Linked DNA regions of Homo sapiens: all the other regions are linked to region 5. Evidence: promoter capture Hi-C in 16 types of primary human blood cells and fetal thymus (Javierre and others, 2016). All regions are on one chromosome and are shown on one strand. Each heading gives the region's core, a stretch centred on a gene start or on the middle of the fragment in contact. The rest is flanking DNA. Distances are from core to core; before and after follow the strand shown.

Region 1 (2,700 bases), core at 88-2,587, 170 kb before region 5:
AGTATTTTAAAGGAAAAAAAAATACACACTATATATTACTTCTGAAGACTTAATAAAAAACACAGTCATGTAAAAACATTCCTAGGAACCCGCCCAGGGCCTTGTAAAGGACCCGTGCAAGGGAGGATGAGAGAACATGTCTGTGCCTGTGCAGTTGAGGGAAGAGGTGGGAAATGCTTCCTAGATTAAGGGATGTCCCAGCAGAGGTCTGGAGGCGGCACAGGAAGTGATCTCCAGGCATAGCAAATAAGTCCAATGGTGGAAACAAAGGAAACTTCAACCAACTTCATCTTCATAAGTACATGCAAACTAAAAGAAGTATATAATACCAATTTGGACCTCTTAGATTAAAATTTAAAAGATGAGCTGGCCAGGCGTGGTGGCTCACGCCTGTAATCCCAGCACTCCGGGAGGCCGAGGTGGGTGGATCATGAGGTCAGGAGTTTGAGACCAGCCTGGCCAACACGGTGAAACCCCATCTCTACTAAAAATACAAAAATTAGCCAGGCATGGTGGCGCGCACCTGTAATCCCAGCTACTCAGGAGCCTGAGGCAGGAGAATCGTTGGAACCCGGGATGCGGAGGTTGCAGTGAGCCAAGATCGCCCCCACTGCACTCCAGCCTAAGTGACGGAGCAAGACTCCGTCTCAAAAGAATAATAATAATAAATAAATAAAATTTAAAAGATGAACAAAAAGTACTGGTACCTAGTGCTGGGAGGCTCGTAAGAAACTGACAATCTCAAGACATTAGCATAAGGGTATAACTGAAACAACCTTTCTGGAGGGCAAGTACAGAATATTTTTCAAAGGCCTTGAAGCATGCCCACTTTTTGACCCAGCAATTCCAGTTCTAGTAATGTATCCTAAAGAAATGATTGCACAAGCATTCAAATGTAGATATAGCCTGGTGGGGTTTTCTTTCCTTTTAAATAAACTTCACGTATAAAGAATTCGATTTTAGGGCTAGGCACAGTGGCTCACATCTGTAATCCCAGCACTTTGGGAGGCTGAGGCAGGTGAATTGTTTGAGCCCAGGATTTCAAGACGAGCCTGGGTAATATGGCGAAACCCTGTCTCTAAAAAATATATAACAATTAGCCCGGCACAGTGGTGCATGCCTCTAGTTTCAGCTACTTGGGAGGCTGAGGTGGGAGGATCGCTTGAGCCTGGGAGGTGGAAGCTGCAGTGAGCCAAGATCTTGCCACTGCAATCCAGCCTGGGTGAAAAAACAAAGAATTAGATTTTAAAATTATAGAACATTCATATAATGAACTATAAGGCAGTCAGTAAAACTGATGTACTTAGATATAGACATGGGAAGATTATTAAGTTTAAAAAGCAACTTACAAAATTGTCATTTAATCTCATTTAAAAATATATAAAAATAACATACCATTTATAGTACATGACTCAAAAATAAAAATACAATTAATCTAACGTAAAAATGGGCAAAGGATTTGAGCTGAGACCAGTGGCTCACGTCTATAATCCCAACGCTGTGTGAGGTCAAGATGGGAGGATCACTTGAGATCAGCCTGGGCAACACAGTGAGACCCTATCTTTAAAAAAAAAAAAAAATGGGCAGAGGATTTGAACAGACATTTCTCCAAAGAATATATACAAATGGTCAATGAGCACATAGAAAAGAGGCTCAACATGATTAGAAAAATGCAAATCAAAACAATGATACCACATCGCACCCTCTAGAAGGGCTATAATAAACTCATCTATTAACTGTTGGTTGGTGAGAATGTAGAAAAATTGCAACTATCATACTTTACCTGTAGAAAAGTCATGTATGAAAAGTAAGGTATGGTACAACTACTTTGGAAAACAATTTGGCAGTTCCTCAAAATGGAACACATAAAGTTACCATATAAACCAGCAATACCACTCGTAGATATATAACCAATAGAATTGAAAACATACGTCCACACAAACACTTGCACACAAATGTTCACAGCATTATTCATAATAGCCAATAATTGGAAACAATCCAAATGTACAAATGATGAATAAAATGTGATCTATCTATACAATGGAATATTGTTTGGCAGCAGAAAGGAATAAAGTATTGTTACATGCCATGTGGTAAACCCCGAAAACATTAAGCTAAATAGAAGTCAGTCAAAAAAGGCCACATGCTACATGATTCTATTTATATGAAATATTCAGAACAGGCAAATTTATAGAGACAGAAAGTAGATTAGAGGTTGTCAGGGGAATGGAGTGGTGGCCAGGGGCAGGAAGTGACTGCTTGATGGGAGTGGTGTTTTCTAATAAGTTGATGAAAATTTCTGAAATTCGATAGCAGTGATAGTTGCAAAACTATGAATATATTAAAAACCACTGAATTGTATGCTTTAAAAGGGTGAAGTAGGCTGAGCACGGTGGCTAATGCCTGCAATCCCAGCACTTCGGGAGGCCGAGGCAGGTGGATCACCTGAGGTCGGGAGTTCGAGACCAGCCTGGCCAACATGGGGAGACCCCTGTCTCTACTAAAAATACAAAATAAGCCGAGTGTGGTGGCAGGCGCCTATAATCCCAGCTATCCGGGAGGCCGAGGCAGAGAATTGCTTGAACCCAGGAGGCGGAAGTTGCAGTGAGCCACGATTGCGTCACCACACTCCAGCCTGGGGGACAGAGCGAGACTCCATCTCAAAAAAAAAAGAAAAGAAAAAAACAGGGTGAAGTAATG
Region 2 (2,746 bases), core at 31-2,530, 200 kb before region 5:
TTCCATGAGGACCAAAAGGCATTTTCTCTCCAATTCAAAGAATTTTAAAATACATTATTATATTTACATATTTACTCTTACCACATTCCACATACTATAAAGATCTACTTTAGCCAACTAGTTAAAGGACTTTGCAAAACCCTATTAAAGAATAGGCCAGCAATTAAGCTCACATTTCCCCAACTCCCATCCCAACTTTCTCCTTACTCCAACTCCCATTCCAACTTTCTCCTTACTTTCATGGCTTCTCCTCTGTGGTTTAAAGATTTGACATCTTTCCTAGACGCTAGGGTAGGTCACTCTACTATATGTTAAAATAATGAAATGTGATTATAACATCTGCAAAATACAAAATACATTTTGCATTACCTTTCAGCTCTAGGACAAGTTAGCACGAACATTCAGTATTAGATACCTCCAGCATTAACAGAGTTTGCCAGACACTATACATAAAAAAAAGAAGCCAAAGCAGAAATTCACACGAACCCTAAGCAGATAAGGGAGTCTAGGGATGAAGGACTTTTTCCTCTTTGATCATGGGTGGACAATGCAAGCTCATGCATTACCGTGCATGTTATTTTTAGAAAACCAACCGTGAGTTCTCAAAGTGTCCATAAAAATTTAAGTTATTAGTTTCCTAAAGGTGCACTAGCCACGTTTTAAAGCTCATCTATAACACTTTAAGCAACTTGGTAGCTGAACTTATTCATACTGTAAAGGCAGACATGCCAAATCCCACCAACATTCATTTCTTCTATCTACCCAAGGCAGTTAGATTCAGAAATCCCCAAAGGCAAATAAAAACAGGCTGCCTAACTTTCACAGGCTCACAGTGTTATGTATGTATCACACACCTCCTACAATACATAACACATATGATACAAGGGAGAGCACAGTCCACAGTACTTTAAGTATCCACAAGAGGAAGAGATCACCTGGCGTGGAATAGGTTAGGAAATGCCTTTTGGAAGAGGTGGCATTTGAGTAGGATCTAGAAGGCTGAACGTGCTGTCTTCAGGTAAGGCTGGAGGAAGAGTTTTAACGAAGTGAAAAAACACAAGTTAAGGCATACAGATCACAGAAAGGCTGATAAGATAAAAAGTGAAGTACAAAAGATAATTAATTTCTAGAGTTTCTCAGTAGGACCGAAGAACAATCCTATGTAACTTTATGACCCGGAATAATATTTTACTAAAACACACTGAACTGACAGATGTTTTTTGTTTTGGGGTTTTTTTTTTTGTTTTTTTGTTTTTATTTTTGAGACAAAGTTTCACTCTTGTTGCCCAGGCTGGAGGGCAGTGGCGCGATCTCAGCTCACTGCAACCTCCGCCTCCCGGGTTCAAGCAATTCTCCTGCCTCAGCCTTCCCCAGTAGCTGGGATTACAGGCACCCGCCACCATGCCCGGCTAATTTTGTATTTTTAGTAGAGACGGGGTTTCTCCACGTTGGTCAGGCTGGTCTGGAACTCTCAACCTCAGGGGATCCGCCTGCCTCGGCCTCCCATAGTGCTGGAATTACAGGCGTAAGCCACCGTGCCCGGCCCTGACAGGTGTTTTTTTTTTAAAGTCCCAATATGAGCAAATATCTCAAAATGATCTTCAGACAAATACAAAGAATGTTAACAAGATTGCCAGAAAAATCTAATGAAAAATTTCTAACTATTCTTTGAAGGACCAGCCTCATGAGTAAAGGAGCCGGCAGGAGCAAGGGAGCCTCCTGCTTCACAGCAGCTGTTACAGTCGAGCACAATACTAACATGTATATCAGTGTTTCACTCCACCAGGGCCCAGTCCCATCTCTCAGAATACCCAGACAATATGTCATTATTCAAAAAGTTAAGTCTTCTCTCCTCAAAAAAAAAAAAAAAAAAAAAAAAAATCTAGCCTCTGAACATAATGTTTTTAAAACGGAATGCAGCAGAAACCTTTTTAATTGAAGTTTCATGCTGTCCATTCAGCAGACTAGCATAGACCACACACTTGCCCATAAAGTATAATTTACTATCACCAAGCTCACTTATATAATATAACCCCACTGTCAGAGGAGGACTTTAAAAACGATTTTTCTTATATGAAACCCAACAAACACTGGCACTGGAGAAACCAGTCTAGAGTGTGCCCAGAAAAACAAGGACTCCTTAACACAAGTCAGAGGACTGCTGGGTGTTTGTTTTGTTGGGTTTTTTTCCGCCTCCCCCCCTTTTGGGGGAGGTATGTGACTTAAACATATGTTGTATGAAAAGCAATTTTTCCTTGAGAAATAATGGTAAAGATCTCACTGTTTCTTTCCCAAGGTTCTGTGACAGAGGTTGCTCTTTGGCCCCTAATATCCCCCCTTCTCGTCTTCTTTCACATAATGGAATTTTTAAGTGGGCATATTTCCAAGGCTTCTCTGCATCTGGGTACGGCCACGGGACTAAGTTCCAGCAAATGGGGTGAAAGCCGAAGTATCGCGCCGGCAGTTTCCAAACTGCTGCCAGGAAAACAAACGTCTCCACCTTGTCCCACGAGTAGGAGATCCCAGTACCCTGGGGAAGGCGACGTGGGGTCCCTAAAGACTTCCTGGAGCCAGCGGCTGCATATCTGCAGACTCTCTCAGGAGAGAGAAAACACTCTCTTAAGATGTAAGCTTTAATTCTAACTGGAACAGCTTCCCATTCTTTTCCAACACCAGAAATTGCCAGCAGCAGCTGCTCAGCGGAACTAATACTACATGGCCTCATCACTCCAGCCCCTGCTTGCCC
Region 3 (2,700 bases), core at 18-2,517, 180 kb after region 5:
TCCATGTCCCAACCTGTTTCTTTAATTCACATAATTCAGTGGTAACTGATCACTTGGACACAAGTGGCCACATGAGAATTCCCCTCAGGTGGCATCTTGGGTTCAAGCCCTATAGTCTGTTGGTGCTGCCTCACTGGAAAGAAGAGCTCTTCCTATTACTGAGGTGTGGTATAACTCAAGGCTACAACAGAGGCCAATGCCTGAAGTCCACTTGCTCTGCCACAGTTCAGAAACTACTGTTTCTTATTTACTCATTCACTCATTGTAATGGCTAATTTTATGTGTCTATGTGCCTGAGCCATGCAGTGCCCAGATATTTGGTCAAACATTATTCTGGGTATTTCTATGGGGGTCTTTTTGCCTGAGATTAGCGTTTTCATCAGTAAAGAAGATTGCCCTCCATAATGTGGGTGGATCTTATTTAACTAATGCAGGTGTCACTAGAACAAAAGGATGAATGCTTTCCTGTGTAAGAGAGAACTTTCCAGCAGATGGTCTGTGGACTTCAGCTGAAGCATCAGCTCTTTCTGACTGAAGGCCTTGGAATTGGAACTCTGGCTTTCCTTGGGTCTCTAGCATGCTGCCCCATCCTACAGATTGGACTTGTCTATCTCCATAATCATATGAGCCAATTCCTTATAATAAATCTCTGTATATATCAATATCCATATCATCTATATCTATATCATCTATATATCTATATGTATATATTTCCCACTGGTTCTGTTTTTCTGGAGAACCCTGATACACTCAATCCAAACAAGTATTTCTTGAAGATGTACTATATGCCAAGCAGTAAGCTAAATGACTAAATGCCAGAATAAAGAGTTAAAACTACAGTCCTTACCCTTGAAAGTTTAGAAATTTGGCAAGAATGCAGACAACAGAAAGCTTTTCCTTAAAGTAAGCTGGCCAAATTGGTCCCACGCAGAGAGAATGTACACACGAATTTCATTTCGGAGGTTTATGCTTAATCATAATCAGAGTCTGGCCATATTTGCTTAAGCACTCATTTTTTTCTAGTGGATGGAAGTTTCCAGTGAAATATTGCAACTTTATGTTCCCTAATAAGTTAGCTGCAGAGGACAATTGTACATTGATTTGCTCTTGATCCATGGAGCAATCCTTGCTAATGCTTTTGTGTGAGTCTTAGACATAATTGACCACCTTGGAATACTGCCCAATATTCAGTCATCTAGGAAATTTGTTGGACCTGCCTTGTAGCAGTTGGCCTGTGAGAACCAAAGGATACAAAGAAAACTAATAAGTGTACTAGCGTTGTCTGTGAGAGTTCTTTGAGCACGAAGCACTCACTAAGCAGGGAACTCCAAGGGGAGCAGAATATTCCCAAGGATTCTGCTGTGCATCATGTCATATGCAGAGTATATCAGGAAAAGCAACGGCTTTAAATTCAGACAGACATGACTCCAACTCCTGCACCTGCTTTTTAACAGCTAGCGACTTTGCAAATGTACTCAATCTCTCTAAGTCTCAGTTTTCTCATCTCTAAAACGAGGATAATAACTTTTCATAGGATAACTGTTAAGGCTGAATGGGATCATGCATGCACAGTGACAAGAATGATGCCTACCATATAGCACGTACGTTCAATTCATGGAGGTTCTTTCTAGCACAAAGCTTTTGTGTATATTTGATTCATCTCTGTGCTTGTAAAAGCAGTAGGGGCTGGTTATAAACATTTGCTTGCAAAGTGTTTCTGTATAAATACAGTCTCCATCTCAAAATTTAGTATTACGTTCTTAGAACAAACAAGCTATTTTAGTTTAAAGTACAACAAAATCTTTGTTCCTTAGAATACTAGAGAATGAGCAGTAAATGGGTGTCCAAAGAGGCTGGCCAATGAAGAGTTAATCACTTTGGCAAGATGAGCATGCCTAGTCTTCCTCTCCCTCCCAGGGAAACATAAAAATCAATTGAAAGAACAGAAATTGAAGTCATTATTGTTTGTGAGCCAGAGAGCTAGCTCCCAACCCTCCCCTCCCCTTTTTAAAAATGAAGCCTGGCCAGGCATGGTGGCTCACGCCTGTAACTGCAGCACTTCGGGAGGCTAAAGCAGGAGGCTCAGATCACTTCGGCCCAGGAGTTTGAGATCAGCCCCGGGCAACATACAGAGACCCTTGTCTCTATGAAAAAAATAAATTTTAAAAATTAGCCAGGTGTGGTGGTGCATGCCTATAGTCCCAGCTACTTGGGAGGCTGAAGTATAAGGATCGCTTGAGCCTGAGAGGTTGAGGCTGCAGTGAGCCATGATCACATTACTGTACTCCAGCTTGGGCAACAGGGTGGGAACCTTGTCTCCAAACAAACAAACAAACAAACATCCCTTGAAGCCTAGATGGCCAGCATGGTGGCTCATGCCTATAATCCCAGCACTTTGGGAGGCTGAAGTGGGAGGATGCCTTGAGGCCAGGAGTTCAAGATCAGCCTGGACAACACAGTGAGTCCCCATCTCTTTAAAATGAGGCCTGGAAAACTCTAAAAATCCCAGTAGTAGCTCACAAGACTTATTTGTTTCCTTTGGAGAAGCTAATGAGATTGGTGATTTTTGCTCGCCTGTCTCAAAAGCGCTTATTTCTAGAACCTTGAAGCTTTGTTGAATCTCCGATTCATCTTTGTGCTTGTAAAAGCAGTAGAAAAGTGTTAGATAACACAGCTTACTCTACTCAATTATAATGCTTA
Region 4 (2,700 bases), core at 196-2,695, 210 kb before region 5:
ATCCTAGAGGTAAATTAATTTGGTTCTTCTCCCCAACTGGAATGTAGGCTCTACGCAGATACAAACTCTAGACCAAGGCCTGGCACAAAGCAGAGGCTCAGGAAAACCGCTGAATGAATGAAAGCCCCAGGTACTAATGGTACTGACTACAAATTCTAAGCAATGTTCTTTATTTACCAATCAGAAAGAAGAGGTAAGTTTCATAATATATTGGTTCAAGAGCTTTTCTCAATTATAAAATTATCCAGTTACAAGGAAATATGGATAATCAAAGGGAAAAAGTAGCCAACCCTATAAAATGATTCATGAAATGTATATTAAAAGAATTTAAACTTATCATTATACATCTACTATAACATCAGAAATAGTTCTTCCCACCAAGCCCCATCCGGGCAGGGCTAAAAGCAGGACATCCTTAGGGGCCTGTTATTACTTGTGACCATGGGGGCTGCCTCCCTGAAAAGCAAGCTGGTAAGATTTAACAAGCTCTACAAAATCGTTCACAGTCTTTAACTAAAGAATCTCTCCTCTTTATGAAACATGCCCCAAGGAAACAGAGGATTCAGAAGGAAAATTAAAGAAACTTATAAAATAGGTATATGGCCTAACGGTAATAACAGTGAAAAACAGGAAACATTTCAAAAGACCAACAATAAGATTAAGCAAACTCTGGAATATCAACACTGTGAACTCCACAGCCATTAAAAAGAAGTTAGGTGGAATCCACTGATATTTTATATATGTATATTACTTCTATATAATTTTTTCAAAAAGCAGAAAATAGTAAAATAACCAATTCTGAGAAGGTTACAAAGTTTGGTGGCCACCAGCATTCAAAGTAAATCTATTAAAATGACCTGCATTTGAGACAGCTGAATGCTCTGGACCTTTGGAAGCAGAAAATAAGCATTTGGTAGCTGCTTTGCAGACCCTTCTGTAGAGATTCTACGAGTGCCAATTCCAGATACCTGCGGAAAAAGAGAGAGAATTGCTCCTCTGTTAAGAGTTTTAAAACACATTTGCCATAATGCTAAAGCACGTCTCCAAAGGAAATCTGTATTCATCAGCATGGCCTTCAAGACTCTACTAATCCAATTATTTTATTTATCTTTGTCTACAAAAAACACAATGAATGTTTCAGAAATGCAGAATGCTGGCTGAGCACGGTGGCTCACGCCTGTAATCCCAACACTTTGGGAGGCCCAGGGAGGTGGATCATTTGAGGACAGGAGTTTGAGACCAGCCTGGCCAACATGGTGAAAGCCTGTTTCTGCTAAAAATACAAAAATTAGCCAGGCAGTGGTGGGAGGCTGAGGCAGGAGAATCGCTTGTGCCTGGGAGGTGGCTGCAGTCAGCCTGATCACACCACTGCACTCCAGCCTGGGCAACAAAGTGAGACCCTGCCTCAAAAACTAAAAAATAAAAAATGAAACAGATTAGAATGCTGTATTTAAGCTGAATGTTCCTCACTGTAGCAAATCTGTTCACAAGTAGGCAACTCTTCTGATATGGGACCTCTTTAATGGAATCCAGTAAGAAATAACCACAAAAATTACTGATCTTGGAACTTAAATTACTTGATGCCAGATCTTGTTAAATGCCATATCAGGTACCATTTAAGGTAAAGATTCCTATTTCTGAGAATAGCAACAAGATTCTTCAAGCTCCCTTCCTGGTACCTTGATATGAATAGTGAGCTCCCTTGGAACCAGCCTCCAAGCACACAATCAATGTCTCCTAATTAGAAATATTCCTGAGCCAAAGAGGGAAGGTAGGCAAAATCACTAGAGACTGTCCTTAGAGCACCTCCTTCTGAACGCCCGTGAGGTGAGAGCCATGAGTTTTGAAAGCCTTCTGTATTTTATGATGGGAAACTGTGTGACAGATTGCTTTGCTTTGTTCTAGTATCCTCCAAAGACCCACAGTAGGACTATAGCTCCGTCATCAGTAGGAAAGCCAGCCAACTGTGGCATGTCAGGCAGAAAAGGGTGAATGCTGATGATTTTAACATCACTAACAGTCTTGTATTTTAACGACATAAACCAGGTGACAACATTTCCAAAAGTCTTTTTAAAAATATACACACACACCCCTACAGTTAAGTCACCAACCAAAGTTGTGACAAAAGGAAAAAGTTACTCACATGATAGGAAAGGACTCCATACGAAGAGGTATTAATAAATAAGGAACTTTCAATGCTTCCTTCTTCAGTAGGTAAGAAAATAATTCTGAAGGAAGTTTTCCCCATTGCTGGAATTACCTGAAAGAAAGGTCCCCAGTCAGCCACTTGGAATGGCCTCCTTTGATAAACTGTCTTTCACAGACTTTCTTTTTTTGACAATTTCTGTTAACAGACATTTGTATATTGTGCACCCTTATCAGTATTATGAATCCCTAAGAATCCCCAAACTGATCAGCATCCAATTATCTGCTCTTAGATATAGCAAATATTACCACTAACTTAGGATGAATCCTTTCGCTTCAGACTGGAGCTGTGAGTCTCACATCTTTCCTTCCCCTCCTCTTCCACCTCCACAGGTCCAACTGTCTTTAGCTAACACAGTTCTATCTCTACTTAAATATAGACAATAACCAACGTGCAAACATGTTGATATGTAATAAAAATCAGGAACAACGTTTACCCAGACAGACTGTCATAAACCAAATATTGGGCTTCCCCTTACAACATATCCTTAGTCC
Region 5 (2,853 bases), core at 131-2,630:
CTTATCAAAAGCTTTAATTTTTTAAAAGGATTCTCTATTATCGGAGGTAAGCTTCTAAAGAGTTAACACATTTAGTATTAGCAGGTGATTCATGTGTAGAGAGATAGATTAGGTAAAAGGACAACGCGCGTTTGAGCTGCACAGTTCTCCAAGTCAGTTATACGAGGCCAGCAACTCTGCAGAGAAAAATTGTAACACAGAAGGGCACTGCTAACAGATTTGTTTTAACTGTAGTCCTGTTTGGCTCCTTAGAGCACTTCACGCCCAGGTGGCTGGGTTGTTAGTTTAACCACAAAGAAGCCGTTATCATTTATAACTACATCTGGACAAATATCTTCAAATAAATACCATACAACTGGATCCTGGTGTCCCACCCTGCCCCCCTTAGCTCGGCAACATTTAACGGCCACGTAAGTAAATGAAGATATTAAAATCTTAGATCCATTTAACCAGATGTTGATTCTTCGCCAACTGAAGCAGAAAAAACGGCATGAAACTTTGAAGGTTTATGAAAATGATTTGATGAGCAGAAAGACGTTAAGCTCACAAAGCCGATCTTACCAGGACTTAACTGATCATGACCCACGAGGAAGCCTAATTCAGTGCAGAGCGTCCTTAAAAAAGCAACAGCGCCCTACACAACCAGCAGCACCCGGCACAAGAGCAGCGACTCCTGCCCTTTGGCAGAAACCGGGGCGTTTTCACAGAAATCGACTAATTGGCACACAGTGAAGATCCATTAGGTAACTCGAAACTGAGCAGTTCTGGAATGTGCTCTACATATTACAATACAGAAAACCACTCAATGGTGACAAACCAGGAGTGCGCTTTGGGATCAAGACGTTCGCTCCCCGCAGTCCCTCCCGCCCACTTGCGCTTTCTCTCCCCGTTCTTAATGGGGGGGGCTACACCACGCGGGGCCGAAGCTGGAGGCGTAGGGAGCCCAGGTTCTCAAGGGCCCCGTGGTCTTTTAGATAAATCCAGGTTGGTGAAGTTCTCGGGTCACGTTCGCGAACGCTTCCCGCGTTCTAACCTAACCCGCCCGAACGGGCCCTGGGGACAGACGCGGGGTGCAGCCGGCGGGGAGGCCGCGGATGCCCCCGCGCCTCGGGACTCCGGACAGGAGCGGCGGGGAACGCCGCAGAGTGCGGAGTGGCTGCGGCGGGGCCGGGCTGGGCCCCTACACGGTGAGGCCGAGAGCCGGGCGACCGCTCCCGCGGCCCGGAATGGCGGTCAACGCCAGGCCGGGATCCACATGCAGCCGAGGGGCGGCGAAGCCCACACACTAGGGAGGAAGAAGACGCGGGACCGTAGCCTCAGTCCTTACCATGGCGCGGGCGCAGGGGCTTCCGCTGGCCGGGCCCGCGCTTGGGGAGAGGGGCGGGACAGGCCAGGACGCGTTTGATTTTGGCGCCGACTACGCCGCGGGGGCGGAGCAGCGAGACGGTGGAGGTGGGGGAAAGAGGCCGGTCCTCGCCCGCGCGGCGCGCAGCGACCCCTAGCGACCCATCCGAGCCGCCGGCGGGGGAAGGGGCGCGGGCCTGGGGCCGGGGCTGTGGGGAGCGTGTCCGCGTCTCAGTGGACGGGTTGCAGAGCTGCCTCCGTCTCCTCGGTATTCTGTGAATGTGACCTTTTTTTTTTTTAAGGACATCTTGCCTTTGCTTTTACTGCGTTTTCTTGGCGCCGCAGAAATATGGCCTAAGTTTGGATGTAAAAAATAGAGGCGTTTAGGCTGTTGAGGAAGGAAACGCTGCCTCCATCCTTCCGGACTTGTCCTGTCTGGGGCGGACTGGATTCCTTTCTCGTCTTCTAATCTGACCCCTCATCTTCTCCCGAGCCGCTACCCACTGCTTTCCAGCTTTTCAAATCCTGTGTATGTCTGTTTGTTTTTCCCTTAGGTTTTAAAAAAGAAGGAAACAACGGAATGAATTTCAAATCAACATGGTCAAAAATACGCTACTTCATGGCTTGAGAATAGATCCAGATTCATAGCAAAAGCTCAGGCCCCTGAAAGTGCTGAAAAATTTTAACTCAGAATTCAATTATTTTGAAAATTATTCTATGGTGTTTTGAACCATTTTTAGGTGTAAGAAGTACGGTTGGGCGCTGTGGCTCACACCTGTAATCCCAGCAATTTGGGAGGCCGAGGCGGGCAAATCACTTGAGGTAGGGAGTTTGAGACCAGCCTGGCCAACATGGTGAAATCCCATCTCTAATAAAAATACAAAAATTAGCCAGGCGTGGTGGCGGACGCCTGTACAATCCCAGCTACTCGGGAGGCTGAGGCAGGAGAATCGCTTGGACCCAGGAGGCAGAGGTTGCAGTGAGCCAAGACCCCGCCACTGCACTCCAGCCTGGGCGACAGAGTGAGACTCTGTAACACACACACACGCACGCACACACACACACACACACACACACAGTGTAGTAAGTCTTGTAGATGCTATAAGAGTAGCATCTAAAGTTGGAATTTATGTCCCCTGTTGCTTCTGCTGGAGGCAGAGGAAGGGGTACATTGAATTGCAGAGTTCCATTAATTTGGTTTTTCCTGTAAGAGTTATACCATGTAACTGATGGTACATAAGGTAATTTTAAAATGATAAATGAGTACATTAAGTAACTACAGTAGTGGTATATACATTTGTGCTACTTGGGGAAAGCCTTGTCTTAATTGGCTCTCAGGCTTGTTGCAGGTGAGTGGTGACTATCTGAGGCCAGTGGCGCTGTGGCAGAAAAATTTACCAAGGCAGTTGTAAGTAAAGAAAGGCAGAATCATTAGAGAAAGCATGAAAATACGTTGCAAGGGAGCAATGGGCAGAATCAGCAGAAAAGGAGCTGACTGCAAGGAAACAA

Evidence for each region. The method cuts DNA at HindIII sites, captures the fragments that hold promoters and counts their contacts. A CHiCAGO score of 5 or more calls a contact.
Region 1: a fragment that was not itself captured here is called in contact with the fragment with the promoter of MND1 in region 5 in 11 of 17 cell types (naive CD4 T cells, naive B cells, naive CD8 T cells and 8 more); the score reaches 11.6 in naive CD4 T cells.
Region 2: a fragment that was not itself captured here is called in contact with the fragment with the promoter of MND1 in region 5 in 15 of 17 cell types (naive CD4 T cells, activated CD4 T cells, naive CD8 T cells and 12 more); the score reaches 19.8 in naive CD4 T cells.
Region 3: a fragment that was not itself captured here is called in contact with the fragment with the promoter of MND1 in region 5 in 1 of 17 cell types (endothelial precursors); the score reaches 6.0 in endothelial precursors.
Region 4: a fragment that was not itself captured here is called in contact with the fragment with the promoter of MND1 in region 5 in 15 of 17 cell types (naive CD8 T cells, activated CD4 T cells, naive CD4 T cells and 12 more); the score reaches 18.2 in naive CD8 T cells.

What each region holds. Positions count from the first base shown.
Region 1 is chr4:153,514,793-153,517,492 of GRCh38, reverse strand. The region is part of intron 3 of TMEM131L (transmembrane 131 like); the gene reads right to left. Among named protein-coding and RNA genes, the nearest start is that of TMEM131L, 50 kb to the right of the region's middle. The HindIII fragment of the contact is 2,996 bases long and covers 1-2,700 here.
Region 2 is chr4:153,538,628-153,541,373 of GRCh38, reverse strand. All of the region lies in intron 3 of TMEM131L (transmembrane 131 like), which reads right to left. The region is part of intron 1 of LOC105377498 (a long non-coding RNA gene); the gene reads left to right. Among named protein-coding and RNA genes, the nearest start is that of TMEM131L, 74 kb to the right of the region's middle. The HindIII fragment of the contact is 2,706 bases long and covers 1-2,633 here.
Region 3 is chr4:153,160,231-153,162,930 of GRCh38, reverse strand. It overlaps a transcript of TRIM2 not described here. Among named protein-coding and RNA genes, the nearest start is that of TRIM2, 43 kb to the left of the region's middle. The HindIII fragment of the contact is 747 bases long and covers 894-1,640 here.
Region 4 is chr4:153,556,526-153,559,225 of GRCh38, reverse strand. TMEM131L (transmembrane 131 like) reads right to left here. Exons shown (of 35, transcript NM_001131007.2): 6 at 2,144-2,260; 7 at 858-968. Among named protein-coding and RNA genes, the nearest start is that of TMEM131L, 92 kb to the right of the region's middle. The HindIII fragment of the contact is 7,356 bases long and covers 1-2,700 here.
Region 5 is chr4:153,343,215-153,346,067 of GRCh38, reverse strand. It overlaps MND1 (meiotic nuclear divisions 1), which reads right to left and starts at 1,380. Exons shown (of 8, transcript NM_032117.4): 1 at 1,328-1,380. The coding sequence starts at 1,330. RefSeq lists enhancers at 272-391, 472-531 and silencers at 1,012-1,171, 1,302-1,611. The HindIII fragment of the contact is 6,712 bases long and covers 54-2,853 here.